Linked DNA regions of Homo sapiens: all the other regions are linked to region 2. The links are contacts of gene promoters, found by promoter capture Hi-C in blood cells and fetal thymus (Javierre and others, 2016). All regions are on one chromosome and are shown on one strand. The core of a region is centred on a gene start or on the middle of the fragment in contact, and the rest is flanking DNA. Distances in the headings are between cores, read along the strand shown.

The links. The method cuts DNA at HindIII sites, captures the fragments that hold promoters and counts their contacts. A CHiCAGO score of 5 or more calls a contact.
Region 1: a contact is called between a fragment that was not itself captured here and the fragment with the promoter of TP53AIP1 in region 2, in 5 of 17 cell types (total B cells, naive B cells, non-activated CD4 T cells and 2 more). The highest score is 13.5, in total B cells.
Region 3: a contact is called between a fragment that was not itself captured here and the fragment with the promoter of TP53AIP1 in region 2, in 5 of 17 cell types (naive CD8 T cells, activated CD4 T cells, naive CD4 T cells and 2 more). The highest score is 12.5, in naive CD8 T cells.
Region 4: a contact is called between a fragment that was not itself captured here and the fragment with the promoter of TP53AIP1 in region 2, in 8 of 17 cell types (total CD4 T cells, activated CD4 T cells, total CD8 T cells and 5 more). The highest score is 8.2, in total CD4 T cells.
Region 5: a fragment that was not itself captured here is called in contact with the fragment with the promoter of TP53AIP1 in region 2 in 3 of 17 cell types (naive B cells, total B cells and M2 macrophages); the score reaches 5.9 in naive B cells.
Region 6: a fragment that was not itself captured here is called in contact with the fragment with the promoter of TP53AIP1 in region 2 in 6 of 17 cell types (naive B cells, total B cells, total CD4 T cells and 3 more); the score reaches 12.8 in naive B cells.
Region 7: a fragment that was not itself captured here is called in contact with the fragment with the promoter of TP53AIP1 in region 2 in 5 of 17 cell types (activated CD4 T cells, naive B cells, non-activated CD4 T cells and 2 more); the score reaches 7.2 in activated CD4 T cells.

What each region holds. Positions count from the first base shown.
Region 1 is chr11:128,152,394-128,156,105 of GRCh38, forward strand. The region is part of intron 2 of LINC02725 (long intergenic non-protein coding RNA 2725); the gene reads left to right. Among named protein-coding and RNA genes, the nearest start is that of LINC02098, 55 kb to the right of the region's middle. The HindIII fragment of the contact is 5,358 bases long and covers 1-3,712 here.
Region 2 is chr11:128,941,356-128,945,408 of GRCh38, forward strand. TP53AIP1 (tumor protein p53 regulated apoptosis inducing protein 1) reads right to left here and starts at 1,516. Exons shown (of 4, transcript NM_022112.3): 1 at 1,439-1,516. The HindIII fragment of the contact is 8,104 bases long and covers 1-4,053 here.
Region 3 is chr11:127,999,174-128,003,048 of GRCh38, forward strand. No RefSeq gene overlaps it. Among named protein-coding and RNA genes, the nearest start is that of LINC02725, 95 kb to the right of the region's middle. The HindIII fragment of the contact is 5,201 bases long and covers 1-3,875 here.
Region 4 is chr11:128,017,534-128,021,196 of GRCh38, forward strand. No RefSeq gene overlaps it. Among named protein-coding and RNA genes, the nearest start is that of LINC02725, 76 kb to the right of the region's middle. RefSeq lists a silencer at 2,467-2,665. The HindIII fragment of the contact is 792 bases long and covers 1,406-2,197 here.
Region 5 is chr11:128,034,596-128,038,736 of GRCh38, forward strand. No RefSeq gene overlaps it. Among named protein-coding and RNA genes, the nearest start is that of LINC02725, 59 kb to the right of the region's middle. The HindIII fragment of the contact is 6,153 bases long and covers 1-4,141 here.
Region 6 is chr11:128,135,014-128,138,826 of GRCh38, forward strand. All of the region lies in intron 2 of LINC02725 (long intergenic non-protein coding RNA 2725), which reads left to right. Among named protein-coding and RNA genes, the nearest start is that of LINC02725, 41 kb to the left of the region's middle. The HindIII fragment of the contact is 4,086 bases long and covers 1-3,813 here.
Region 7 is chr11:128,101,270-128,104,890 of GRCh38, forward strand. It overlaps LINC02725 (long intergenic non-protein coding RNA 2725), which reads left to right. Exons shown (of 6, transcript NR_183639.1): 2 at 1-115. Among named protein-coding and RNA genes, the nearest start is that of LINC02725, 7.3 kb to the left of the region's middle. The HindIII fragment of the contact is 683 bases long and covers 1,061-1,743 here.

The DNA.
Region 1 (3,712 bases), core at 807-3,306, 790 kb before region 2:
GGTGACAAAGCAAGATCCTGCCTTAACATATAAAAAGAGTGGGGAAACAATCACAATACTCTCATTTCCAGTAGGAGAAACTACAAATTTGATTGAAAAGAATCTAACCCAGGTATTTCAAATCTTGGCTGAATTCTTGTGCTGGTTTTGCTGTTAAGTCTATAGATCTAATACACAGCATGAAGACTATAGTTAATAATATTATATTGTATACTGAAAATTTATTCAGAGAACAGATTTTAGGTGTTCTTACTACACAAAAAAGTAACTATGGAAGGTGATGGATATGTTGATTTGCTTCGCTGTAGATCATTTTGCTTTGTATATGTTTATCAAAACATCATGTTGTTCACCTAAAATATATACATTCCTATGGAAAGAAAAAAACAGAGCAAAGGAAGGAAGGAAGGAAAGAATGAAGGAAGGAAGCGAGGGAGGGAGGGAAAGAGGGAGGGACGAAGGGAGGAAGGAGGGAAGGAGGGAGGGGAGGGAAGGAGGGAGAGAGGGAGGAAGGAGGGAAGGAGGGAGGGGAGGGAAGGAGGGAGAGAGGGAGGAAGGAGGGAAGGAATAAAGTAAAAGAAAAAGAAAAGAAAAATGAAAAAAGAAAAGGGAAAGAAAGAAAGAAAAGAGAGAGAAAAGAAAAGAAGGAAATACCAATGTGAATAATTCTTTTTCCCTTTCTGGGTCTCAATTTTGTCATCTATAAAATGATCACTCTGGTCCATTTTCCATTTGGCAGAGCTCAAACAGGCTGGAAGCCGACTATGAGGATGAAGACAGCGCCTAAACTTTCTAACACTCTTTATGGGGCCTATTTCCTAGAGTTCATGCAACTCATCTTGAGTCACAATTTATATATGTTTAGGTGATCAAACTACCTTTTATTTATATTTCCAGTTTATGAAGCATGGTTGATATGGTATTTCACTAACCCTCACAAGAACCCTAAGGTAGGTAGGTAATAATGTCCCCATTTTACAATGAGGGCACCGAGGCTAGATATGGCCCACAAACCTTCTGTAAGCAAATAAATGCAAATGCAGGGTTAGTGCTGGAACTCACATCTTCTGACTCCTTCTGTGCAGCTGAACTGTGAACTCCAGCTTGTAAAATACAATTCCTTGCTCTGTAGCCAAAACAAAACTGCATTTGGAAATCAGAATCAGAAGGTTGGTGATAGGCCGTCAAGTGTTTCACAAGTGATTAAAGGAGAATCTGGGTTCCCCATCTCTTGGGGCCTCCTATTCCTCTCTCAGATCCCTCAACACTTAGTATAAATTATCTGGCATTAGGATAGAGATCTTTTTCATTAGTGTGTCTTTGAAAAACATTAATGTACAGGAAAGAAAAATTCCTCTTCATAGGGACAAACATAATCTTATCAGAAATGAGCAGGACAATAACAGGAAGGAGAGGATTCTGGAATGTCAAAGAGAGGAGGGGCAACAGGGAAAGAAGGCAGGCTGCAGGAAAGGCCCGGAGAGGCTTTCATCAGGGGCCGGCAGCCAGGATATTATTGTGAGCTGGAAACATGGGCAGAGCCAGGCAAGGAGGAGGGCATATTGCAAAATGGCTGCCTTGCTGCCCTTGTTGACGTGCGCCCAAAGACTGCACATGGACAAAGACATATTTATGCAAAGTCCATTTTCCTTCCAATGACTTCCAGGGGAAGCTCACAGCCGCTAAGGTGATGAAGCCTGAAGCTAGAGAGAAAGGACCTTCAAAGACGTTGAGTCCCTCTCCATGGGATGGGATTCCATCTCCCATCCTGGACTTGAGACCCTGACAGCAGCATCGATTCCTTCTGTCACTAATCCAGAGACAGCGCATCCCACCGCTGCCTAGACTGCCCGGAAACTCTATCCCCTCCCTCTTGCAGCCTTCACACACCCCCGGAAGGGTCCCAACCAGACTACACCTACACCTTCCCAGACCAGCACCAGCTGTTAACAAAGTGAAATGTCCCTTTTCTTTGACTGTTAGATTTCAAATGCTGCATGGTCCAAAACTGCTTTTTCATGTCTCACCTACACTCATCACACTGTTTCAGCCTATTTACTTTATTTTGTCCATAGGGTACATAGAAAGCAGCTGGCCATCTTCCTGGGCATAATAACACTTTAGACACTTGACAGAAACAATGGAGCCACAGAAAAGACCACCCAGACATAGATATCTGTCTCCGAGGAAAAGTTGGGGGCACAGCAAATATTCTCAGGACTTGGCAACATCCGCTTCTCTCATTATGCCCTATACAAAATTACAAAAATACTCAGTTCAGACATTTGATTTTGGTCTTGAATATTCTATTTAACACAGTGTACTTGTCTTTACATATAGACATGCACATCTGTTCCTAGAATTCTTGCAGAATAACTTGCTTTCCTTGCCACTTTACTTTGGCTTTAATTGTTGTCATGAATACAGCCTTCCGTACATCTTCCCATAATGTTCTTCTTAGTTTTTTAAACTCTTTAATCATTTTCTCCCCTTAGAATTTCTGAAGTTAAATGATAAAATGGATTGGGATGTCAGTCCAAAATCTCCAATGCTCCGAAAATCTCAGACACATGTTGCCTCGGAGATGGGTCTTTGGGGGCAATTAAAAGATAATGTCAATAGGGCTGGACAATGACAAGCTAATGGTCTCCTGCTGCCAAAGAAGGGGCCTTGGAGAAACTGAGATGTTATTTTCAAAGCCAGAGCCCATTATGCTGTCACAGCACCATCCTCCGATGACCTGGCTCCTATTATGCCCAGTGATTAGAACAATAAATAAAAGAGAGGCAGTAAGGAATAAGTGCAAATTTCTGCAGCTAACCAGCAAACCAATCGAGTTAAGAGTGAGGCTCCCCAGACACATTTAGCCATCAGCATGTATGTCTGAACCACTGGCTCCAGAAATGTTACCTTTTCATCTCCATGCATGGCATTTCTTGCAACTGACATTTTAGTTTTTTCTATTAACTCCTACAACTGGATTTTATTCTTGCCAGCCAACTCCTACCTAACCTTCAACACCCAACTCAGAATGCTTTTAGGAGTCTTCTCAAACCCTGTAGCCCACAGGTACCCTCCTCTAAATCCATGTATTTTCAACCTGTTGTGGTCTTTGTTGTCATCATTAACATCCTTTATAACCCCCTTTGCATAGTGGTCCCTTTCTTTACTACTGCTTAAGTTCTCAGGAACTGGTGTTGACCCAAATGGAGTGTAAATTACCAGTCAACAGAGATTATATCGCACACATATTTGTATACCCTTAAATCCCAATATATGCCCTCAACAAACACCTCTTAAGTGGTTGGACTTTTGTGAATGTTTCTGTTTAGATTAGTCATGGTTGAAAAGGTAGAGTATGTGTCAGGCCATGATGTTTATCTCCTCCAGCAGGTGAGTAGGAAGAAATTGATGTTGCCCAGAACGTAATCATCAGAATATAAACTGAGATGGAGTGAAATCACCCTTTATGGTCTGCTGGCTCACTTCTCCTTCTTGTTTGTTGCTTGTCATAGATCCTACCCCTTTCTGAAATGGCATGACTCTATAGGAGGTCCCAGGCCTGGTATCCTGGTTATTGGCTGACTGACCAATTGCTTTCTAACTTAGTTTCAGATTTGTTTTTCTGTGAATTCAAGAAAAAGGAGTGGTATTTGCTGGCAATTTTGCTGTGCAAGTACCTTGCATTTTAACCTTCTGGGACCGTTGTCCC
Region 2 (4,053 bases), core at 266-2,765:
TAACCTCCTCCCAGCTGGGTGGATCCCTCCCTCTGGGCCCCCACACATCTCAGTTTCAAAAGACCATTCACATTGTAGTCTAAATTAGTGGATCCCTGGTGTGTGATGTGTGCAGTTATAATGGGTTGCCTCAGCCCCCAACGCACCTTTCATTGCCTTCTTCTGTGATAATGCCCCTGGGCCCTGTACCCATTTCTCCCTTGCCAGCTGGCATGATGTTTAGCCCTGTGCAGAGGCAGGGGCCTCTCCCCGGTTCCGACATTTCTTTCTCTGCTTGCCCCGGCTGCTGGGGGGACATGAGGGACACTTGGCCCTGTTCTCTCTTCAGCAATAATTAGTCCCAGCCCAGGTTCCTGGCCTGCTGCTCCCTGAGGAGGGTTTGCCAGTGCCAGCCCGTGCTTCCTTGTACCAGGACTTGGTCTGCTGGGACCCAGTGGAAAGCCCACGGCTGCCGCCCCCACCCACCTTCCCCTGCTTGCCAGCCACAGTCACCAGCTGTAGACTTGTGTGGCTGTGCTGCGGAAGCAGATCTGGGTGGAGGAGGGCCCCACGCACAGACGTGAATATGAAGGGACCCTCTAGAGGTTGTGGCAAACACAGGTGCCCCGCCCCATGCCCTGTCTGCAGTCACAGCCCTTCCTACATGGAGGGTGCTATCATCAATCTTCTGGGGGGCTGTGGACACTCTGCATCCCCATACCTGTGGCAGTCCTGGCACACGGTAAGCTCTCAGTAAGTGTGGTGAGTCACTGCTGAAGGAACTAACAAATAAACCTCCCACCACCAACCACAGGTAGCTGGGGCAGAACTAGGGAACTGCTGAAAGGAGGCTGGTGAACCCTGCCATGACATGCCCGCTGTGCCCAGGACCCAGGCTCCCACAGCTCGCGTCCTTCCTCTATCCCAGATCCATTCAAAGTGAAGTGGCCTCCATACAGGCTTCCCTAGGGGCCCTGCTCAGTGTCCATGAGGCCACCATGCCGCCGTTCACCAGGGGACGTGAGAAAGGGGCTGGCCTGTGGACCAGGACTGACCCAGGTCTGAGCCCCAGCTCAGCGGTCGGCTAGCTGTGCGAGCTTGCGCAGTAGCTCCCCAAGTGTGGCTCAGGACGCACAGCATCGGCGTCAGCATCGCCCAGGAACCTGTTAGAGATACACATTTTTGGCCCCAACCTGCATCGACCAAGTCAGAAATTCTGCAGTGTGTGTTTTCGTAAGTCCTCCAGGTGACTCTGATGTACTCTCAGGGTTCAGAACCATTGAGAGAGAGCAGTTTAGCTGACCTCCTCCAGGCCTCACCTGCGCATGGTCACGACTGTACTTTCCGCACACAGTCGCCGAGATGCGTGTGAAACCCCAAGCACAAAGCAGAGTGAATCGCAGTGGCCAGAGCATACCTGAAGCACCAGCGCTGGTCCCCTCCCTCCCCCTCTCCTCACCTGCCTCCTAGGAGTCGGAGGGTCCGTGGAAATGGTCTCCTCCTGCACATCTGTGCTGCTGTGACTGGGTGCAGGTCTGAGCAGAGGCTTTCGGAGTGAGCTGAGCAGGCGAGCCCGAGCACGGCCTCTCAGGGAGCGAGCCCATAGGCTGGGGAGCCGTCCCTGGAGATGCCCCTGGGCTCCTTGCGGGGCATGGCTGAGTTCCTGCCTGTCCTTGGCAGGCCCGCAGTGGTGGGGTGGCTCAGGCAGTTACCCTTTTCACAACCAGTGCTGCTGGGGGTGAAGGCAACGGGTGGGTGAGCACGGACAGTGTGAGCCACGTGGCCGGGAGCTGGGCCAGCTCGCTGTATGTGCACATCGTTTCCATGTGTGCAGCAGAAATTGGCGTCTCTGCACAAAGCTGATTTTAGTCTTTCTCACCTTTTCTTGCTCAGCTTAAAATAGGCCTCTCTTCAGGGACAAGGTGGCCTTATACCAAGCCAAAGTGCTGAGGGCGCAGGGAGACCCGCGAGACAGGGCCCCCTGAAGTCCTGGCGGTTTCTAGCCAGCCTCTTGAAATTGACTTGAAGGTGTTTACCTTGCAGATTATTTTTTCCAACTTCCCACACTCTGCTTCCCGCACTCTGTCCTTCCTCAAGGCTGGCACGCTCATCAGTTGACTTCATCTCTCCCTAATGGCAAGGCCTGACCCAGAAAGAAATGCAACTCAGATCCCGGCTCAAATGAGGCTGGGAAAGCTGATGCCTGTAAGACCGACAAAGACGGTGCAAGGTGAGGTGAACGCCGCTGTGTCTGGGTGCCGGGCTCCCTTGTCGAGTTGACCCTGAGTCTGCATCAGCTCAAACGCAGTTCCCGGTTCCCCACTGAGATTCCCACTCCCGCCTGGAGGGGAGACGTGCCTGCCTTTTGAATGAAGCGTTGCACACTAGACATAGTATCACAGGCAGAATTGTCATTTTTAGCCTTTTTACATGTTGCCAACTTTCAGACATACTATTCCGTTTTATCCCTCCAAATTCCTCAAAAGCTGCTTCTATTTTGGAGCTCTTTCTTGCCAGTGCTGGGTAATTTCTCCCTAGCCATGTTTTTATTGTAGAGAATGGAAACCTGATGTGATGAACACTCTGAGTAGAAATCCCTGGGGGCTCGCAGTTAACCGGATAAGACATCTCACCCTGAGAAACGGTCCCAATTTCCTTTTAAAAATTCATTGTCTCTCTGAGATACATACATATTTCCTTGTCTCATTCCAGAATCAAAAGTTCTAATGTTGCAAAGAATAATTTTTGTCCAAATATGTTTTCTTCCTGGTGTTCCAGAGAGTCTGGGATAGCAAGAGGTGTGGAGCTTTGGTCCTCGGGTGACTCTGATTCCATCGTTCCTCCAGCAACCAGGGAGCAATCACTGCTGGGCAGGGAACACCTGCTTCCTCCCTGGGCTTCCAGCCTTCCCCTAGCAATCTTTTTTTTTTTTTTTTTTTTGAGACAGAGTCTCACTCTGTCACCCCGGCTGGAGTGCAGTGGTGCCATCTCAGCACACCGCAACCTCCAGCACACTGCAACCTCCACCTCCTGGGTTCAAACAATTCTCCTGCCTCAGCCTCCGGAGTAGCTGGGATTATAGGCACCCACCACTACACCCAGCTAACTTTTGTATTTTTTAGTAGAGATGGGGTTTTACCATGTTGGCCAGGCTGGTCTCGAACTCCTGACCTCAAGTGATCTGCCCACCTCAGCATCCCAAAGAGCTGGGATTACAGGCATGAGCTACCGCACCTGGCCCCCAACACTCCTTTTTAAGACCCATTTGAAAATAATGACAAAAACCACAATTACTTTTGCACCAAGTTTAACCACAGTTTACCAGTGTGCGGTTACTGTGGCTTGAACATTGTTATCCATGCATGGTACTTCTCTTAAAATTTGCTCCCATGCAATCAGAACACTTCTATACAGCCTGTCTCCTTAGATAGACTTGACCATCCTTCTCTGCTCTTGCATCTACTGCTTGGGGCGAGGGCAGGGTCTGGCCCCTGGGGATAGGCCAGACAGGCTCACCAATTGGACAAATGGATTCAGGTCAGCTTTGTAGACTTGGCCTATTCCCATCTCTTGACACAGCGGGAAAGTCTTGCTTCCTGCCAATTATCCTCTGCTAAGCCATATTCAGCATTTCAGTTTTTATAAGAGAACCATGAATTCAAGGGTATTGGGCTTAGTCTGAGCTACTAACAATGGGTTACTTTTCTTACTTTTGCCTATTAGAGCTTGGGGACAGAGCTCCTCCAATTAGACCCTCAAAGCAACAATGAGTGAACAGCAGGCCAAGATCCAGGCATTCCCAGGCCTGGCCTAATGTCACCCTAGTCCTTGACCCTGCCTGCTGGACTTTAGGACATGAAGGGGTTAGACATGGATGAGGTTAGAGAGGTGTTTGCATGCCAGAAGACGGTGAGTGTCCGGGCCACATCGAGGCGCTGGAACATCCTGCAGTGCTGTGCGTCTTAGAACATGCCCACAGCCCACCTGCCCCAGAGCAGTCTGAGTGTTAAATGTGTTGGTTCTTGAACCGCATTCCGGGTCTGCTGGATCAGAATCTTTGTGGGTGGGGCCCAG
Region 3 (3,875 bases), core at 722-3,221, 940 kb before region 2:
TATTTTTAGTAGAGACGCGATTTGACTGTGTTAGCCAGGATGGTCTCTATCTCCTGACCTCGTGATCTGCCCGCCTCGGCCTCCCAAAGTGCTGGGATTACAGGCGTGAGCCACCGCGCTCCGCAATACCATTTATTTTTAGTCACATAAGTCAGTATTTTTAACCCTCATCTCCTTCAATGAGTTGTTCTGTATATTTGTAATACAATTAGATTGTTTTGTCAAATTCGGCATTCTATCCTGAGACCTCCGACCTTTTAAATCAAGTTTTTAAAATGTGCATACACTGAGTGAGCCCTGTGCTGCAAAGTTCTATGATGCTGACAAATGCATAGTGTCACATAGCCACCATTCCAATAACTACAGAATAGTTTCACCTCCCTAAAAATAATTCCCGATGCTTCATCTATTCAACTGTGCATCTCCACTCTCCTGGTACCCATATTTTTCTTTATTTACTTATGTATTTATTTTAATGTTTCTTTAGTTTTGCCTTTTCCAAAATGTCATAGAATTAGAGTTTTACAGTAGGTAGCTTTTTCAGACTGGCTTCTTTCACTTATAAATATCCATTTAAGATTCATGCATTTGTTTTCATGGCCTGTTAGCTCATCTCTTTTTACCCTAAATAATAATATCCCATTGTGTAGACGTACCACGGTTTGTTTATTCATTCACCTATTGAAAAATAACTTGGTTGCCCTGTTTTCTTGTAGATTGTGAATAACGCTGCCATAAACAGTCTCATGCAGGTTTTTGTGTACACATAAGTTTTCAAATCAGTTGTGTAAATTTCTAGGCGTGTGATTGTTGGAGATTGTGGCAAGACTACGTTTACTTTTGAAATAAACTGCCATACCAGATTCTAAAGTTGTACCATTTGCATTCCCACCATTAATAAATGAGAGTTCCTGTTTCTCTATATTCTTGCCAGTAATTGGTATTATCAGGCTTTTTGCCCTGAATTTTAGCCATTTTAATAACATATGCTGGCATCTCATTGTTTTAATTTGCAATTCCCTAATGGCAAATAATGTTGTGCTTCTTTTTATATGCATATTTGTCACCTGTATATTTTCTTTCGGAAGTGCTAGTGAGACCTTTCTGGAATTTTTAATTGGTTTACTTTTTATTGAGTTTTAAAGAGAGTTATTAGTATATTTTGAATACAAGTCTTTTATCAAATATGTGTTTGGTTAATATTGTCCTCCAGTCTATGGTTTTCTTTTCATTTTTTTAGTAGCATCTTTTCTCCAGTAGAAGTTTTTAATTTTGATAAAAGCCAACTATCAATTTTATTCTTCCATGGATTACGGTCTTGGTGTTATATCTAAAAACTCATTGCCAAAACTAAGGTCACTTAAATTTTCTTCTGTTTATTTTTTTTTTCTAGAAGTTTTATAATTTTTATTTCACCTTTAGGTCTGAGATTTATTTTGAGTTCATTTTTTAACAAAAGGGGTAAAGTCTGTGCCTAGGTCAATTTTTTTTTTAACATGTGAATGCCTAATTGTCCCAGAACAGTTTGATGAAAGACTATCCTCTCTGCATTGAATTGCCCTTGTGCCTTTCTTGAAGATCAGTTGACTGTATTTATGTGAGTCTTTTTATGGGCTTTCTATTCTGTCCCATTAATCTACATGTCGTTGTTTCTCTAGTAAATACCACGCTGTCTTGATTAGTGTAGCTTTATAGTAAGTCTTGTAAATGGTTTATGTGAATCCTTCAACTTTGTTCTTCTTTAGTACCACGTTGGCTATTCTTGATCTCGTGACTTTGTACATAAATTTTATACTGAATCTATTGATATCCACAAATAGGCTGCTGGAATTTTGACTGGGATTTTGTTAAATATTAAGATAAAGTTGGAAAATATTGACATCTTTACACTGAGTCTTCCAATTCATGCGTATAAGCTGTCTCTCCATTTATTTAGAACTTCATTGATTGTTTCATGAGAGTTTTGTAATTTTCTATATATAAACCCTATAAATATATTGTTAGATTTATACGTAAGTGTTTTATGATTTTGGTTTTATTATAAATGGTACTTTAAAAAAATCAAATTCCAACTGTTAATTGCAGGTATATAGGAAATCAATTGACTTTTGTACATTAACCTTGCATTCTGCAACCTTACTATGCATATTTGTTAGATCCAGGAGTGTGACTACTTTGGTATTTTCTTCATAGGCAACCATATAAAATGTGAATAAGGATAATTTTGGTTCTTTCTTCCTAATTGGTAGATCTTTATTTTCATTTTCTTTTTTTGGTTTTATTGTATTAACTAGGAGTTTTAGTATGATAATGAATGTAGGTGGAGAGGTGTACATCCTTGCTTTGATCCTTGTCTTAGGGGAAAAGTGTTCATTTGATATGATGTTATCATTTTTCTTCTTTAGCTAGTTGATGTGTGGCTTACATTTATTCTTTTTCAAATGCTGAACCAGTCTTGTACACTTTGAATGAATTCCATTTGTTATGGCCTATATATAATTCTTTTTATACATTGTTGGATCTAATTTGCTAATATTTTGTTGAGAATTTTTGCATCTATATTAACTGACATTGGCATGTGGTTTTCTTTTCTGATAATGTCTTCATTCATTTTCATATTAGGGTAATACTGACCTCATATAATAAGTTAGGAAGTATTTTCTCTGCCTCTAACATGGCAGAGATTGTTGAGAATTGATATCATTTTTTGGTTAAACATTGTCAGAATTACCAGAGCTTTAGTTTTAGAATAATTTTGTTTTTTTCTATGTCAGAGAGTTATTAGTAATTGACTCAATATTTCTAGTGGCTATGGACCCATTTACATTACCTGTTTCTTCTTGTGTGAGTTTTGATACATTGAGTCATTCAAGAAATTGGTCCATTTAATCTAAATCATTAAATTTGTGTGCATAAAGTTGTTTCTAAAATTTCATTATTACCCTTGTAATACTTGCAGGATTAGTAGTGATGTCCCATCTTTCATTTCAGGTAGAGGTTGATCAATGTTATTGATATTTTGAAAGAATCAGCTTTGGGATTCATTGATTTTCTATATTGATTTCCTGTTTTCAATTTCATTATTTTTACTCTAGTTGTTATTATACCTATTCTTTATCTTGCTAAGGATTGAATTGCTCCTTCTCTAGTTTCATACTATTTGGATTTCTTCTAGTATGCATTTAAGACTATATATTTTCCTCTAAAAGCTGTTTTTTCTGCATTCCACAGATTTTGGTATGTTGCATTTTCATTTAGTACAAAATATCTTTAAATTGTTCTTGAGACTTCTTTGACCCATGCATAATTTTAAAGTATTTTTGTTAAATTTCCAAATATTTGTAGATTTCCCAGCTATCTTGCAGCTAACAATTTTTAGTTTAATTACATCGTGGTCTAAGAGCATATTTCCTATGATTTCTGTTTTTTAATATGTCACATCATATTTTATGATTTAGCCCAGAGTACGGTCTATCTAGATTAATGTTCTATGTGTACTTGAGAAGGTGTGGTTCCTATTATTTATGGAGATTTCTATAAATGTCAATTAGACCAAGTTGATTGATAGTGCTATTTAGGCCAACCATATTCTTACTGGTTTTCTGCTTGCTTATCTATCAGTTAATGGAATAAGAAATGTTGAAGTCTTCAACTATATAGTGGATTTGTCTATTTCTCCTGTCAATTCTATTTGTTTTTTTGTGGGATTTTTTTTTTGCTTCAAATATTTTAATGCTCTGTTTTTAAATACAAACATCGTAAAACTTTTAAGTTCATCTTCTTGGATAATTGACCCTTTATAAGTATAAAATGCCTCTCATTCTTGATAGTTTTTCTAGTTATGAAGTTGGCTTCATCTGAAATTAATATAACTA
Region 4 (3,663 bases), core at 552-3,051, 920 kb before region 2:
TAAATTTGTGAGTTATCAGTATGTAGGTGTAAGGGAAGTTGTAGGCATAAAGGTGAATGTGCTATGAAATTCAACACTGAGTAACTCCAAAAATATTAAACAATGCAATTTCATGATAAAGAGCTAAGACTCTGAAGCCAGATTGCCTTTGTCTGAATTCCAGTTCCTTCATTATAGTAGCTGTGCGGCCTCAAGCAATTAACTTAACCTCTTAGTACTGCCATTCCCTCATCAGTAAAAATGGAGCTAATAACATATACCCCAGGGCTTTGGGAGTATTAAATGAACAAACACATTAAAAGCTCTAAGAAGAGTGTCTGGCACATAATACTTAGCAAATATAAGTTGTTTCTTTGGCTGCTTCTTGTTAATTATTATTTTCATCATCATTATCAATATTAGACATTAGAAGGTGATTATGCAAAGTAGACAGAAAAGGAATATCCAAAGAGGGAATCAGGAGAGCATGATGTCTTACAGGCCAAAGAGGAATGAGCTCAGAAAGAGGCTATGACCAACCATGCTGAATTCTAATGAGAGGTCAGGTAAGATGAAAACTGCAAAATGCCTATTGTATTTATGGACATGCAGGTTATTATTAGCCTTAGAAACTTTTTTGAGAGTTTCAAGCATAAACATGGTTAACATTAGATGGAAATGATCAAATTGAGAAACAAGCCAAAGAGAGAAGATGAAGAAGGAATGATGTCTTCTAAGAGAACAGCAATGACTGGGCTCCAAAGCTCAGGTCATGTCAATGGTCTTAGGTGGAAGGTGTTACAGCTCCTGATAGCAGGCGGGAAAGAGAAGAGGAAGGTCACAGACAATGGTTTTATCATCGGGGGCTGAGGGAGATCCCATTGCTGTCTTTTATTTTCTTTTAAAAAAAATGTGAGACTCCATCTTAAAGAAAGAGAATTACTTATGAGAGCATAGGATGTATAGAAAGAGAAGGAGATAGGGAGTGAGTGGCCAGGGGATTTAAAAATTTGGAGAAAGTTTGCAGCATCCTGCAGTGGGTAGAAAGGTGAGCTAACTTGATAAAATGTTGGATGATCTTTGGCAGTCCTGAGGGACTATTTGAGGTTGGTGACAATAAATTGAAATTAGAACCAACGTGTTTTATTTTGTACCTTTTTTCATCCCATCTTTTTCATGGTACAATTATAAAGATAATTATTTGGATTCACCAGGGTTGATGCTTGAACAAGTGGGGATAATATTTAAGAGAAGGAAAAGGGATTGTTGGTACTACTGGATTGATGGGTGATGGAGGGAACTGTTAAAGGAAATGAGTAAGAGCAAGGAGAGGAGCTCTGATGAGTCCCCAGCGATGACATCATGGGGCCGAACAGAGAGCTGAAAGGGGAGAGACCACAGTGGAAGAGCGGGATGCTCAGGTTTAAGCTTTTGGAGAGAGGACCACCATGCTCAGGCTCTTTCTCCAACAGATTTCATCTTCTTACCTCTCAAGGTTCCTGCTCCATCGTTCCCACCGACACTGCGGATATCCCTATATCAATGACCAAACCAAACAAAATGCCTTTGTAACCACTGAGCTCAACCAGACATATTACTGATCACCTTTTTTCTTACTGTCAAACCACTACATAAATGAATCACACACTCTGCTCCCACTTTTCTTTCCTTTCTTCACTTCAGAAATCTTATTTCTGCCTCCAACCTCATAGAAATACCATGTTCTATCTTTAGTGTTACTAATGATCTCTTTTCTACAAAATCCAATGGTATTTTTCTATTCATCATTCTTCCCTAAAGAAAAGTAAGGACTTTGAGAATCAAAGAAGTAGAGAGGGAATTTCAGGTAGAAATATAACTTTAGCATAAAGAAATGTAAGCAGAGGTATGAAAGGAACCTTCAAGGGGCCATGCAGAGCCTGTGGACAGTAACGGATGAACGTCAGAGATAGCAGGAGATGCAACTGGAAAATTGTAAAATAGGCCATTGGAAAATAGAACAGGGATGAGCTAAGTTGACTTACATACTAGGTCCCCTTGTTTAAACTTAGTCCTATTAGGCAGTGAGGAATATTCAGAACTTTTTTTAGTAGGGAAATTACATGAAAACAGTGTTGTTTTAGGAAGATTAATCTGGCCAAATTCAGAACGAATTAGATATGGCTAAAAGCTATGCATCTAGTTCAGATAATTAATTCCATCCAACAAGCGTTTATGAAGCTTTTCTATGGATATGTGCCGTCCATTGTCCTATAACATTGTCCTAGGGAGAAGCAAAGTGCTGACTCCAGAGATAATACAAAGTAAATATGATATGTACATATTCCTTAGGACATCAGAATTCTAACATTGGGAGCAACGCAAAAGAACTTTGGGTAAATACCTCTACTATAAGGCATTATAAGAGATGTTTCGCCGGCTGGACGCGGTGGCTCACACCTGTAATGCCAGCACTTTGGGAGGCCGAGACGGACAGATCACGAGGTCAGGAGATCCAGACCATCCTAGCTAAAACGGTGAAACCCCGTCTCTACTAAAAATACAAAAAAAATTAGCCAGGCGTGGTGGCGGGCGCCTGTAGTCCCAGCTTCTGGGGAGGCTGAGGCAGGAGAATGGCATGAACCTGGGAGGCAGAGCTTGCAGTGAGCCAAGTTCACACCACTGCACTCCAGCCTGGGCGACAGAGCGAGACTCTGCCACACACACACCCACACACACACACAAAAGCGGAGTGTTTCAAAACAGAAATATTCACTAAATGTTATGTAAGCTTCAAGGAGTAATCAATTAATATCAACTGAAGTGGAAGATTAACAGAAGGTCTCTCCTAGGTGACATGAGTGGAGCCTTGAAGGAGAATAGAGTATCAGCTGGTGGAACTTACTGCAATTGCACAATGTTGAGTCCTTTGCCACTATTACTCTACAGGCCAGCTTTATAACTCCCAGGCCCAAAGGCTGACATAGGCTTGGAGTTTCAGGTCAATTGTGTGGAGAGCTTGGATACGAACCATGCTCCATCCTGTAAATGTTCTAACTTGGGGGAAATCGGCAATAGACTGCTGGAACAACCTGATTCCGGCAGTAATGAAATATTGTTGGCTATTGATCTACCAGAAGACTGCATTGATTATCTGCCCTGTTGGTGACTAGGAAGCAGTGAAAAGAGACAAGAGGAGAGAACAGCGGCCATGCAGAGAGCAGGTGGTGCATGGTCCAGGCCTCCAGTCTGTTTCAAGAGATCCTGATGCTACTTTCTATGAGTACAGTGTTTGGGGGTGACAGGTTAGCACTTCACTGAAAGAGACATTGAGGGCTGCTGCAAGAACAGAGAAATGGTCAGCTGATCACTGACTTGCTCTCTATTCTTGGGCAGATCATCTTTCCCTGACACATTGTTCCTACCTGTAAATTGAAGATAATAATCCATGGCCCTTTGTTATCACAGTAAGTGGAAAATGAGATCCTGTAGGTGAAGGACGTTGAAGTCACAAAGAGAAAGGAGCTCTTCTATGAAACTTCCAGAGGGTAGTGGCAGCATCAACTGACATTTATGGGCGCTAACTCTGCACAGGGCACCATTGCTTATCCTGTACACTGCATTAACTAAAACTAAAAATTGTCCCTGTCTAGGGAAAGTTTGCCCTTCAAAAATCTTAGCTGCAGAGGTTACATAAATACATTC
Region 5 (4,141 bases), core at 703-3,202, 910 kb before region 2:
TGTTCATTTCTGACCCAGTCTTTATCATAAAGTTTGCACATAATGGTTTTCTGTCCTCAGCTTTCCCTCCATATTTACTAGGCAGCACCCAGCATTCTACTGCAATCAAGAGTCCTCCTGCTACCCTTTATTTATCTATTTATTAGCTGTATGGACTTAGACATTCCTAGGTTTTCAAAGGTTTATCGTTAACTACTGAATTTAATAATTATGATGCTCAAAATGTCTCAGATTTGGCCAATGGGATTCCTTCTGGGCTGGCTCTTGTGTCTCTGCGACATGCCCCCATTATGTTTTTAAGCACTTCCTTAACTTCCGGCACAACACGATATTCCTGGCACATCTTGTTCCTACTTTCTCTGCCATCACCCCGAGGATTCTTGTTTCCTTTTCATACAGAGACAGATTTGAACACTAAGCACCCTCATTGCTCCTAGGCTGTCTCTCCTTCTCGGCCCTCTCAATGGACAGTGTTGGGAATAATTGCATATGCACCTGCACATGCAGGGACAGTGCTACAGAAGTGTCTACACACATACACGCCATGTGCATTCCTACACACACACTTCTGTATGCACACGGGAGCAGGCACACATACATACACAGGGTTTAGACAGCATGGTTGACCACTTGTGATGGTGAATATTGAATGTCAACTTGATTGGATTGAAGGGTGCAAAGTACTGTTTCTAGGTGTGTCTGTGAGGGTGCTGCCACAGGAGATGAGCATTTGAGTCAGTGCACTGGGAGAGGCAGACCCACTGTCAATCTTGGTGGGCACCATCTAATCAGCTGCCAGCACAGCTAGTATAAAGCAGGCAGAAGAATGTGAAAAAATTAGACTGGCTTAGCCTCCCAGCCTACATCTTTCTCCCGTGCTGGATGCTTCCTGCCCTCAAACATCGAACTCCAAGTTCAGCTTTGAGACTCTGACTGGTGTCCTTGCTCCACAGCTTGCAGACAGCCTACTGTGGGACCTCACCTTGTGATCGTGTGAGTTAATACTCCTTAATGAACTCCCCTTTATGTATACATCTATCCTGTAAATTCTGTCCCTCTAGAGAACCCTGACTAATATACCACTCATACCTCTAATTTCCATTCATCTCTATATGATCTTTTTCTTCTCCTTGGGATAGAAGTGCACTACACTTTAATTTAAACCTTAAAACAAAGATTGCCCCCCCACCCGCCTGCCACCACCACACAATAAAACCAGAGGATGTGTGGCCGATTTGGCAACAAATAATAGATTTACGGTAGCAGAAACATAAAGTCACAGAGCAGGTTAAAACTGGAGAAAAGCAAATAAAAACAGCATTATAAATATCTTTCCAATGACTTATGCACTCATTTCAAAAAACATTTTTTCGGAATCAACTGTGTCAAGCACTATTTTAGGTATTGAGATATATCGGTGAACAGTTTAAAAGTCTGTCACTTTAAGGAACAGATATTCAAGAGATGTGAGACACACAGCATAACATTAGTACAAAAGATATAATAGGTGCTCATTTTGAAAATGCTACATGAAAGATCAAAGCAAAAAAAGGGGCATAGAGGTACCTCAATGGGCGTATTTCCTTATATAGAGGGTTTGGGGTGCAGACCTTTGTGATAAACTGATATGTGACCGGAGACCTAGAGGATGTGAAAGAGCAGCCGTGAAGATCTCTGCCTGAGGCTTCCAGGCAAAGGGTGGGTCAAGTGCGTCCTAGAAGGCTGTGATGGGGGACAGTGAGGGGCTGCTGTGGCTGGAGCCCAGTGACTGGGCAGTGTTAGGAGGAGTTGCAGGAGGCAGTGCAGGGTCGGATCCTACAGTGCTTTTCACACCTGTAAGAATTTGGCATCAGTGCAAGATGGGAAGCCACGGGAAGATTTTGAGCAGAGACATGCCATTGTCTGACCTGAGTTTCACCATAGTCACTCCAGCCATTCTGCAGAGGATACACTCACATGGACAAAGGGAAACAGGTCAGTCCAAACAGGGGGCAAGTAGTAGAAACCAGAGATGAACTTGAGACTCTCGCAGTCATTCAGAGATGACGTGGTCTGTACTGAGGTTATGGCAAATGTGTGCACTGTCTGTGTAGAGACAGATGTCCAGTCAGCAAGCATTATTGCATGTCACTATGTGCCAGGGAATGTGATGACTTCTGGGGAATACAAAGATGAGTGAGACACAATCACAGCCCTCACAGAGCTCACAGTCTTTGGAGAATGTGGTGGGCAAGGCAGACATGCAGGAGTAGGATGAGAGTGTAACCTGATAGGCCCTGAGGCAAGTCAGGAGCAGGCTGAGCCACAGGCTCACGTGTCCAGTGCTCCATATCCGTGGATCCCTGGACTCAGAGACAGCTTCAGACAGGACATGATTTCTCTTGAAATAGAAAGGAATCAGGAGCAAAGAAAGAGATTCTGGGGCTCTTGAGTGATAGAGAGAACATCCTTGGCTCTTGAATTTCCAGTTCCAGTCACAGCCCTCATTATGGCTTGCTGAGTCTGTCATTCCCTTGGGTGCCCATGGAATTGTCTGCCATGGTTTTACAACAAGCTCCCCTTACCTCATCTGCCTTGAGAAAGTTTCTGTACCTTGTAGCCAATGACTCTGGTCTGTGACATAGAGAAGATACGAATGCAGAATCAACAGCCTGATGCTGGCCAGGGCATATGCAGGGTTAGCATGGGGTGAAGGCAGGGCTGGTGTCCAGATTTCTGGCCCAGGTGTGACAGCAACATCATTTGTCAGAAGAAATAGGAAGAAGCTACCGAGTGTGTTCTCAGGTGTAATAAGTTTGAGAAGCCTCCAGGGTGCAGATGGCACACCTCGAGCTAAGGGGCCCTGGGTGTGGGAATGAGTTCTGGAAGGCTCCAGTAAGCATTGCCAGTGAAGCTGGGGGACCTGCAGGTAGAGGAAAAGTCAAGCGTGGAACTCCAAAGAATGTCTCGGTTGCACGCAAAAGAAGAGAAGTCAGGAACAAAGAACAGCCAGGAATGAACTAAGACAAACGAGAGAAGGAATCCAATAGACACCATGAGAGGAAAGCATTTCCAGGAGGAAAAAAATTCCAATTCCCCTTCCTTCTTTCCTTCCTTCCTTCCTTCCTTCCTTCCTTCCTTCCTTCCTTCCTTCCTTCCTTCCTTCCTTCCTTCTTTTCTTCCTTCCTTCCTTCCTTCTTTTCTTCCTTTTTGGGACGGAGTCTCGCTCTGTCGCCCATGCTGGGGTACGGTGGCACAATCTCGGCTCACTGCAGCCTCCATCTCGGGTTAAAGCAATTCTTTTGCCTCAGCCCCCCGAGTAGCTGGAATCACAGGTGCAGGCCACCACACCCAGCTAATTTTTTTGTATTTTTAGCAGAGAGGGGGTTTTACTATGTTGGCCAGCCTGGGAGCTCCTGACCTCAAGTGATCCACCCGCTTCGGCCTCCCAAAGTGCTGGGATTACAGGAGTGAGGCACAGTGCCCAGCCCAATTCCTTATACTTTAAATGACTCATTTGCCATAGCCCTTTTATTTCATATATTTGTGCAGCGGTCTTAACTCCCCCCCTAAGCTCTTGCATAGGGGCGGGGACCGCGGGCTCTCTCTGAATAGCAGCCTGAGCTGAATGAGGTTCACGGGGTGGCGAGCCAGCAGAGGGGCTCTGTGGAAGGAAAGATCCCGAATGCCCCTCTCATTCTGTGCATCCTCAGATGTTATTTTACTGACTGGAATTTTTTAACGGCTAAAACCAGGACAAAATATGCTTAACAATTCAATACATTTTCTTACAAATAAAAGGAGTAAAATAAATGTATATTCTCCTGCAGAGCTGATCTGGAAGCGTCCTCACACACCCCTTTGCCACCTGGTGGCATCCCCGTTTCTCTTGGATTCCTGAGATGTCCACTGATGTTGTTGTCAGAAAGCATTGAACTCTTCCCTCCCACGATGCAGCGTGTCTGGCTGCCTCGGATATTCACATACCAGTCCAGCTGCCCAGCTCTTTACCCTCTGATTCTTCCCTCCTCCTTCTTCCAAGTCAGAGAGGGACACTGGCTTGTTATCTTTGGGCCCGCAGGTAACGTTTCTACATCGTTCCGGGCCTCACTATTTTTCCCATGTATAGATTAAGGAGATTGTTGTGCTCATCTTTAAATAC
Region 6 (3,813 bases), core at 759-3,258, 810 kb before region 2:
AATGATATCTGATAATAATAACAAGATTGATCTAATATCCTTTCAGAGAAGAATGTTATGACTAAAGCGCTTAACACAAAGCCTCAAATATAATAAGCATTTGATTGATGGCAACTGTTATTACCACCATCTTAAATAATATCATTATTAGTAGTTGGTTATGAAATAAGACAAGTACAACACATAATGCAAAAAATCTGTCCCCTAAAAACTCCACAGAGAGTAACAAACAATATTCATATTCTTGAAAAAACTTTTTTCTCAAGGACGTATCTTTGTGGTGTGTGAGTATGTACTTGCGTGTCTGTGCATCTAGCTATAAAAAAGTGTGTGTGTTTTATGTTGAGAGTGTGTGGATGGGAGTGGTTTCTTGCATTCACATTTCAGTTTTATATGTTACCTCAATTTGACAACTGAAAAGAACCAGTGAGGTTAAGCATCACAGGGAGAAGAAATCCATGGTTGAGAAATAGGTTGATTTTGTCACATACTGTTGGCTCAAGGTTGTGAAAATTAAGTGTAGGAATGTTGCTTTCTTTTTCCTTCTGGCAAATGAAAAGGCCAAAGCTCAGAATTGTTGGAAATGACAGTCCAATTAATCAGGCTCCATGCTTCAAACTAGGTGCTGAGCCTGTCCATGGTTGTGAAATTTTTAAATGACCCCTTTGTCCTCGGTGGTGCCAAAGTGAAATTCCTTTGGGATCACTTGCTTCTTGGCACCTGGTATCTGACCAACAAGAATGCGAGACAAAAGGTTCTTTCAAAAAAAAGAGACCAAGCTGTGCTTTTGTTTCCTCTGAAAGAAAAAGGTAATTTTACAGAAATACAGCAGGATTATCCAACTACACTATATGCCTCTGGCAGGTATCGCTCTATAAACAACTGAATCCAGTTAGACCTACAAATGTTGACTCCATTTTTTAGAATGCCAACAGAAAAGAAGGATTGTAATATTCTTAGACTTTTAGAATGGAGAGTCGAGATCAAATCTTCTTTTCTTCTACTCCCTGAATTTCTTTTGTCATATGGGGAACAATTTTTTTATTAAATGGAGAACAAAGAGATAAAATTAAATGTCTAAGATAGCACAGGAAGATACAGTTAGAATGAAAACCATGATCTCCTAATTCCCAAGCAAAGTCTTTGCACCCTAATGGACCCCCAACAGTAGAGACCTGTGAACTCTCTTCTTCCAATGCTGGAGAAACAACATTGAAATCAACCTAGAGATATAGCCTGCTTTACAAAGTTAATTTAGGATTTCCAAATACTTCATCTCAATTGCTCCTGACTACATAACTATGAAATAAATTGGACAAGTATCATAGGCATTTTATGCACAAGCAAACAGACTCAGAAATGTTAAGGAACTTGGCCTAAAGTCTCAGGAAGCTGAGTATCCTCTCCAGGTCTCCTAACTCCAAATCGATTTTGTACTAAGATGGGATGGAATTATTTCAAAAGAAACATGACAGAAGAACAGAGATTTTTTTTGTTTGTTTGTTTCTTTCTTTCTTTTTGAGACGGTGTCTCGCTCTGTCACCCAGGCTGGAGTGCAGTGGCGCGATCTCGGCTCACTGCAAGCTCTGCCTCCCGGGTTCACGCTATTCTCCTGCCTCAGCCTCCCGAGTAGCTAGGACTACAGGGGCCCGCCACCACGCCCGGCTAATATTTGTATTTTTAGTAGAGACGGGGTTTCACCGTGTTAGCCAGGATGGTCTCAATCTCCTGACCTCGTGATCTGCCCACCTTGGCCTCCTAAAGTCCTGGGATTACAGGCGTGAACCACCGCACCCGGCCAAGAACAGAGTTGTTAAATAGCTTACCTGAAGTTATACAGCCATCTCAGATTAAATAACTTTTCCCTGGAACATGAGTGATTGATAATGGAGGCCTTTTATTGCCTTTTAAAGAAAATGTCAGCATTGATGGTTGGTAATTTACCAAAGAGGGTAAAATGTGCCTAGCCTGCCACTAACTCGCTCAGTGAATGCTTTTTTGTCACTTATTGTATGCTTGAGAATTTTGCTGGACACTTTATGTACACTTAAAATTTACCTCCTTTGAACTCTATGAGTTAAGTAGGACTAATCCAATTTTTCAGAGGAGGAATTGAGGCTTTGAGAGAACAACAAAGTTTCCAAGTCATATTGCTGAAGAACCAAGGTATGCATCAAGGTAGAGCATGATGAAAGTTATTTGAGGCCTTGTAACTATTTATGGCTTTTTATGACTTGACGCAGGTCCTAGCCTCCATGCTAAGGAAAAGACAATCAATGGATTGGAATTTAAAACCCAAGTCTAACCTATTTTAATGTCTATACCCTTTCCTCTACTGGCCAATTTCTTTGCCATAAAGAGTACTATTGATCTAAAGTTTCTCTTCTGAATAGGAATAACAGGACCATTTCCAGCCCTTTGAAGATCTCTACAGACAATACATTTTCATAAAATAATAGTTATTTTCCTATTGAATCACATTGCCTTATTACTTCTACAATTTTGACTTCATTCATTTAACCTCTCTATAGACTGCACAATTTGCCTTCCCCACACGAATATTATTGTGCTATTCTAATACCTGTGGAAGTTAAAACGACACAGTCATCTATTGAATAGGGAGTTGGATCATTACAGCCCAGTTTAGAAAGTAATTTTCCCAAGACACGCTTTATTTAAAGTCAGGGAAGAAGCCTCCATTATAAATGCTTTCCACTGTAAAGGGTAATGAGTTGCCCGGAAGCTCTGATTAGCTGATTTCCCCTGTGTACTCCCTGCAATGGGCAAATCAGTGCTGACTCAGTCACTGCCTACTTGGCCTCAGTTATATGGCTCTATTTGACTTGTTCTTGGTTCACCACCTTCTTTCCCTAACTCTCTCCAGGGCAGTAGTCGCTCAACTGATTTTCTCACCCCAACAATTATCTTGATAAGTTGAGGCCTGACAGAGAGCCCAGGAAGTGCCCTGTTCCATGCCCAACAAGGACATCTTGGTGGCTCTGCGACAGCTATGTCTTGTGAATTGCATTTGTAGGATGTCGGAAATCTCTGCTATGTCTCTAGAAACATAAGCAAATAATCATTCCAAATAGACATAGGGCTAAATTTACTGAAGTGTATGCTTGGAAATACTAGCTCTTTCTGTGGTCACCTTTTGTGGTCATTATTTGACAAACAGTCCTCAGCAGGTACACAGAAAGCACTCTACTTCCTATCGCAGAGATTAGCACTGAATATTAACATAAATGATGGGAGAAATTCTATAGTAAAGAAATTCATGGCCGGGCGTGGTGGCTCACGCCTGTAATCCCAGCACTTTGGGAGGCCGAGGTGGGTGGATCACAAGGTCAGGAGATTGAGACCATCCTGGCTAACACAGTGAAACCCCGTCTCTACTAAAAATACAAAATAGCCGGGCGTGGTGGTGGATGCCTGTAGTCCCAGCTACTTGGGAGGCTGAGGCAGGAGAATGGCTTGAACCCCGGAGGCGGAGCTTGCAGTGAGCCGAGATCGCGCCACTGCACTCCAGTCTGGGCGACAGAGCGAGACTCCGTCTCAAAAAAAAAAAAAAAAAAATTCATCTGGTTTTATTCAACGCAGTCATTACTAAAGTTACTTGACCATGGAACTGGGATTTTCAGTGAACACTAATAAACACCTTCTAGCACTACTTGTTCATGGAATGTACTTTCCGAAATTCTAGATGAGGGAAATTTTTGTTTTACCTAAGAGCTCTTTCTGTTCCCAAATTGTAAGAATGTTAATTAAACTGAAAGTGGTTCATTTAATGAAAGTGGAGCTAAAATAATTAGG
Region 7 (3,621 bases), core at 152-2,651, 840 kb before region 2:
GTGTTACAAAAGAATCACTTCAGAAAACCTACACTTAGAGAGTCCATTTGAAAATTGCCCTATTTGAAATGAAGTGGAGATCAGTAATAACAAGGACTTCCCCATATAACCCAAGGTAAAACTAAATGCAATGCCATTTCCAGCAACACATTATGAGAACGGGATGTCTTTGGCTTTTAGCTTCTTCTCCTGTTACCTCCTTTCCTAATTCTTAATATTTAAGCCAGAGCCAACTCTGCAAAGTTTAGCAGAGCAATCAAAATTATGAATTTTAATAGAATGTAATTTGAAAGATTTTTGCCTTGTGAAATAGGTATTATTTGCTTACCAGCACTATCTGTAGCATCTAAAGTTCTAGAGTTTTCTTGAAGATACTTATAATTTTTCCTATCACAGTCCCATTACAAGGGTAATATAGTTTAGTTTATGCTGGTTTTACTTTTTTAAAAATCAGTGGGCCAAGTGTTTGATTTAGTAACTTGGAAAAAGGTTCATATTTTTTGAGTCTCCTGGAAGCTCAAAGCATATTTTTCAGGGTACAATTTAACCTCTGAGCTATTTGGTTTAAACCATTTATTTATCTGTGGTTAGGATTAGAGTTTGACTTATAGTAGCTTCAGGAAACATGTTCTGGACCTTTACTCTTGACCAATTTACCTTCAAATCCAAACCTGAGGATGACTGATTAGAATAGTCTGTCAACTTTTCAAAGCAACAGTGCTTCATTCTTTTTCAAGAAGTAAGGTAAGGGAGAAAGATATTTCACTGCACATCAAAATAAATAAAAATATAAATCTTTCATTGGGTTGAAAAATATTTGTCCTGGGGAGAGTTTAGACCCAGCTCATCTCACTCCATTGTGCTATTCAAAAATAACAGTCAGAGGTTAATATCGTGGCCAATTTCTATCTGAATAGCACTAAGGTGAAGGAAACTGTTCTCCCCAGAGCAAGAGGGCTTTGGGACTCACATCTTAAAGATTTAAATGACCACTTTAGAGTTATCAGGAGTCCTGTGAGAAGAAATCATTTTAATTCTGCATGTTGCATAATGCTCTTGAAGCTTATATTCTAAAGAAGATGACAGTCCATTAAAAATAGTTTGACTATATATAATTTCAGATGGTGATAGAGATGAATTACAGTACGAAGCAAGGTAATACAGAAAATCATAGCATGAGGAACTAGAGTTAAATAAGTTGGAAGAAAGAATCTGGAGAGAATTCTGAAGGATGAGAATCTAGTCACCGGGCAATTTGGGTTGAGTATACCAGGCAAGGAACAGCAAGTGTAAAGGCTGTGGAATGGGAATAGGTTTGGGACACGCAAGAAGAAGCAAGCAAGCGAATACAGCTAGAACATAATAAACAGAGAGAGTGATTGGACGTATAGGTGAGGGGCAGGTCACATAGTATCTTCTAGGCCCTCAGTCAGGAGTTTGTATTTAAGATACAAAGAAAAGTCATTGGAGAATGTTATGCAGGAAACTTGATATCATATTTATTTATAAAGGATAATTATGTCTGCTGTGTGAAAAAGGGTCTGTGGGAAGTCAAAAGCAGTGTCAGGTAGACCAGATAGGACTGAGTGAGATAGGTGTAGCCTGGTCAGAGACCAGGTGAGAGGCTGCAGCAGGCTGGGCTAGAGATACAGCTGTGCAGGTGCAGAGAAGGTCCTGGATTCAGAATACATTTTGAAGACAGAACTGACAGAACTTGCTGAAGGATTAGATTTAGAGAATGAAAGCTTTTGGCCTGAATCATTGGGTGAATGATGATAATACTTATTCATTTAGAAACAATAGAGAAAGAAGCAAGTTTAGAAAGAAAAAAATAAAAGTTTTGTAAGTTTTGTTTTTGTTACATGAGTTTAATGTACTTGACAGCCAAGTAAAACTGTCAAGTAGGCAAGTAAATTTTCAAGTTTGAATTTATAAGAGTTTAGGGATAAAGCTATATTTCTGGGAGACATCACCACATAGATAATTAATATTTAAAATAAGGTTGCTGGGTGAAAGCAAAAATGTAGCTAAAGAACAGCAGGGTAAGGACTGATCTCAGGGGATGCCAGCATTTAGAAGTCAGAGAGAGAAGGGGATTCAGCAAAGAAGAACTGGAAGAAATAAGCAACCAGGTAAGAGAAAAAACCGGGGAGTGGGTTGTTCTAAAGTCAAATGAAGAAAGTGCTTGGAGGATGGGGTAGTCTCATGTCAAATGCTGTATGAAAATTGAGTAAGATGAAGAGAGAATGGTTGACTGGATTTAGTGAGATGAATGTCTTTCGTGACTTTGACAAAAATGGTTTCAATGCAGTGGTTGGAAAAAATCTTGATTCAGATGGGTTGGAAGGGAAAGCATTTCAAGGTGATGACAATGACTATGGACAAATCATTTGAAGTTTGTTTGGTGTGAAGTGGGAAGAGAAATGAGGTGGAAGTGAGAGGTTGTGAAGCTGTACAGGGATTAAGAGGGGATCTTTTTGTGTTTAAGATGGAAACTATTACCCTGTGTGCTGGTGGAATTATCCAAGGGAACGGAAAAAGTATACTTTTAACTTGGGATGAAATTTTTTCGGGAGGAAAGAGTGGATGGTATCTTGTGCATAAGTGGAGAGAGTGACAGAGAGAAGGGACCAAGTCCTGAAGCACGGCTAAAAAAAAAAAAAAAAAAAGCTGTTAGAGACCACTCCATATGCAAAGAAAACACTCCATAAGAGGGGCACTTTGTCAAAATCCCAGCCGTAGGCTTTGATCCTTGAAGTAAACAGCAAAGATAGAAACTAGAGCAAAATGGGAATAGAGAGGACAGTCTTCATGTGTGTGAGGGATAGGCAAATTGTACTTAGTGAATGTAGCGACTCCCTATTTCTAACGATAGATCATTTCTAGATTCACTGGTGAGGTCAAGCTCCCTTTGAAGCAGACTTAACACAACTGAGCTTTCCCACTGCAGTACTTTGGCGCAAGCTGACAGAGGCAGTACCAACAGAATTGATTATCAATACATAGTGTTTGTATTTACACTAATGAATAATTAGCTTGTATTGATTGGTTTGTTGATGGGTATAAGAAAGATTGTGAATATCATCCTCTTAATAATCTGATGGGTTAAAGTCAGGCATTGCTGCCAGCATCTGAAAGCAGGAGGAACCAACCTCAAAGTATAAAAGTTAACGAGGATAAACCCACAGGGGATCAGAAACCTCACAGATCATCCTAAGGAGTATCATCACAATGAGAACAGCTAAGAACTGCTAGCTATGTAACATAGTTTTACAAAATAAACGCAGCTGTTACATATTTTTAAACTGTAACATTTTATTTACTGTTTTTCACTTCTAAAACTGAGAATTATTAGGTAGTACAGAAATGTCACTAAAACATTTACACACTGTTCTACCAACTATTATAAGTGAATAGCCTTATAACTCAACAAAGATAAAAATAATGCAACTAAAATAACTCCATTCTCCTGCCCTTTAATCCTTTCTACTCTCTTCCCCCTAGAAATAGCCACTATTCTGACTTTGCGAAATGAAAGCAAATAAAATCTCAGGACCCCAAACTAACTATGCCAAAGCCAAAAGTTCAGCTTGGACACAGATTCACACAAAAAATTGGCTC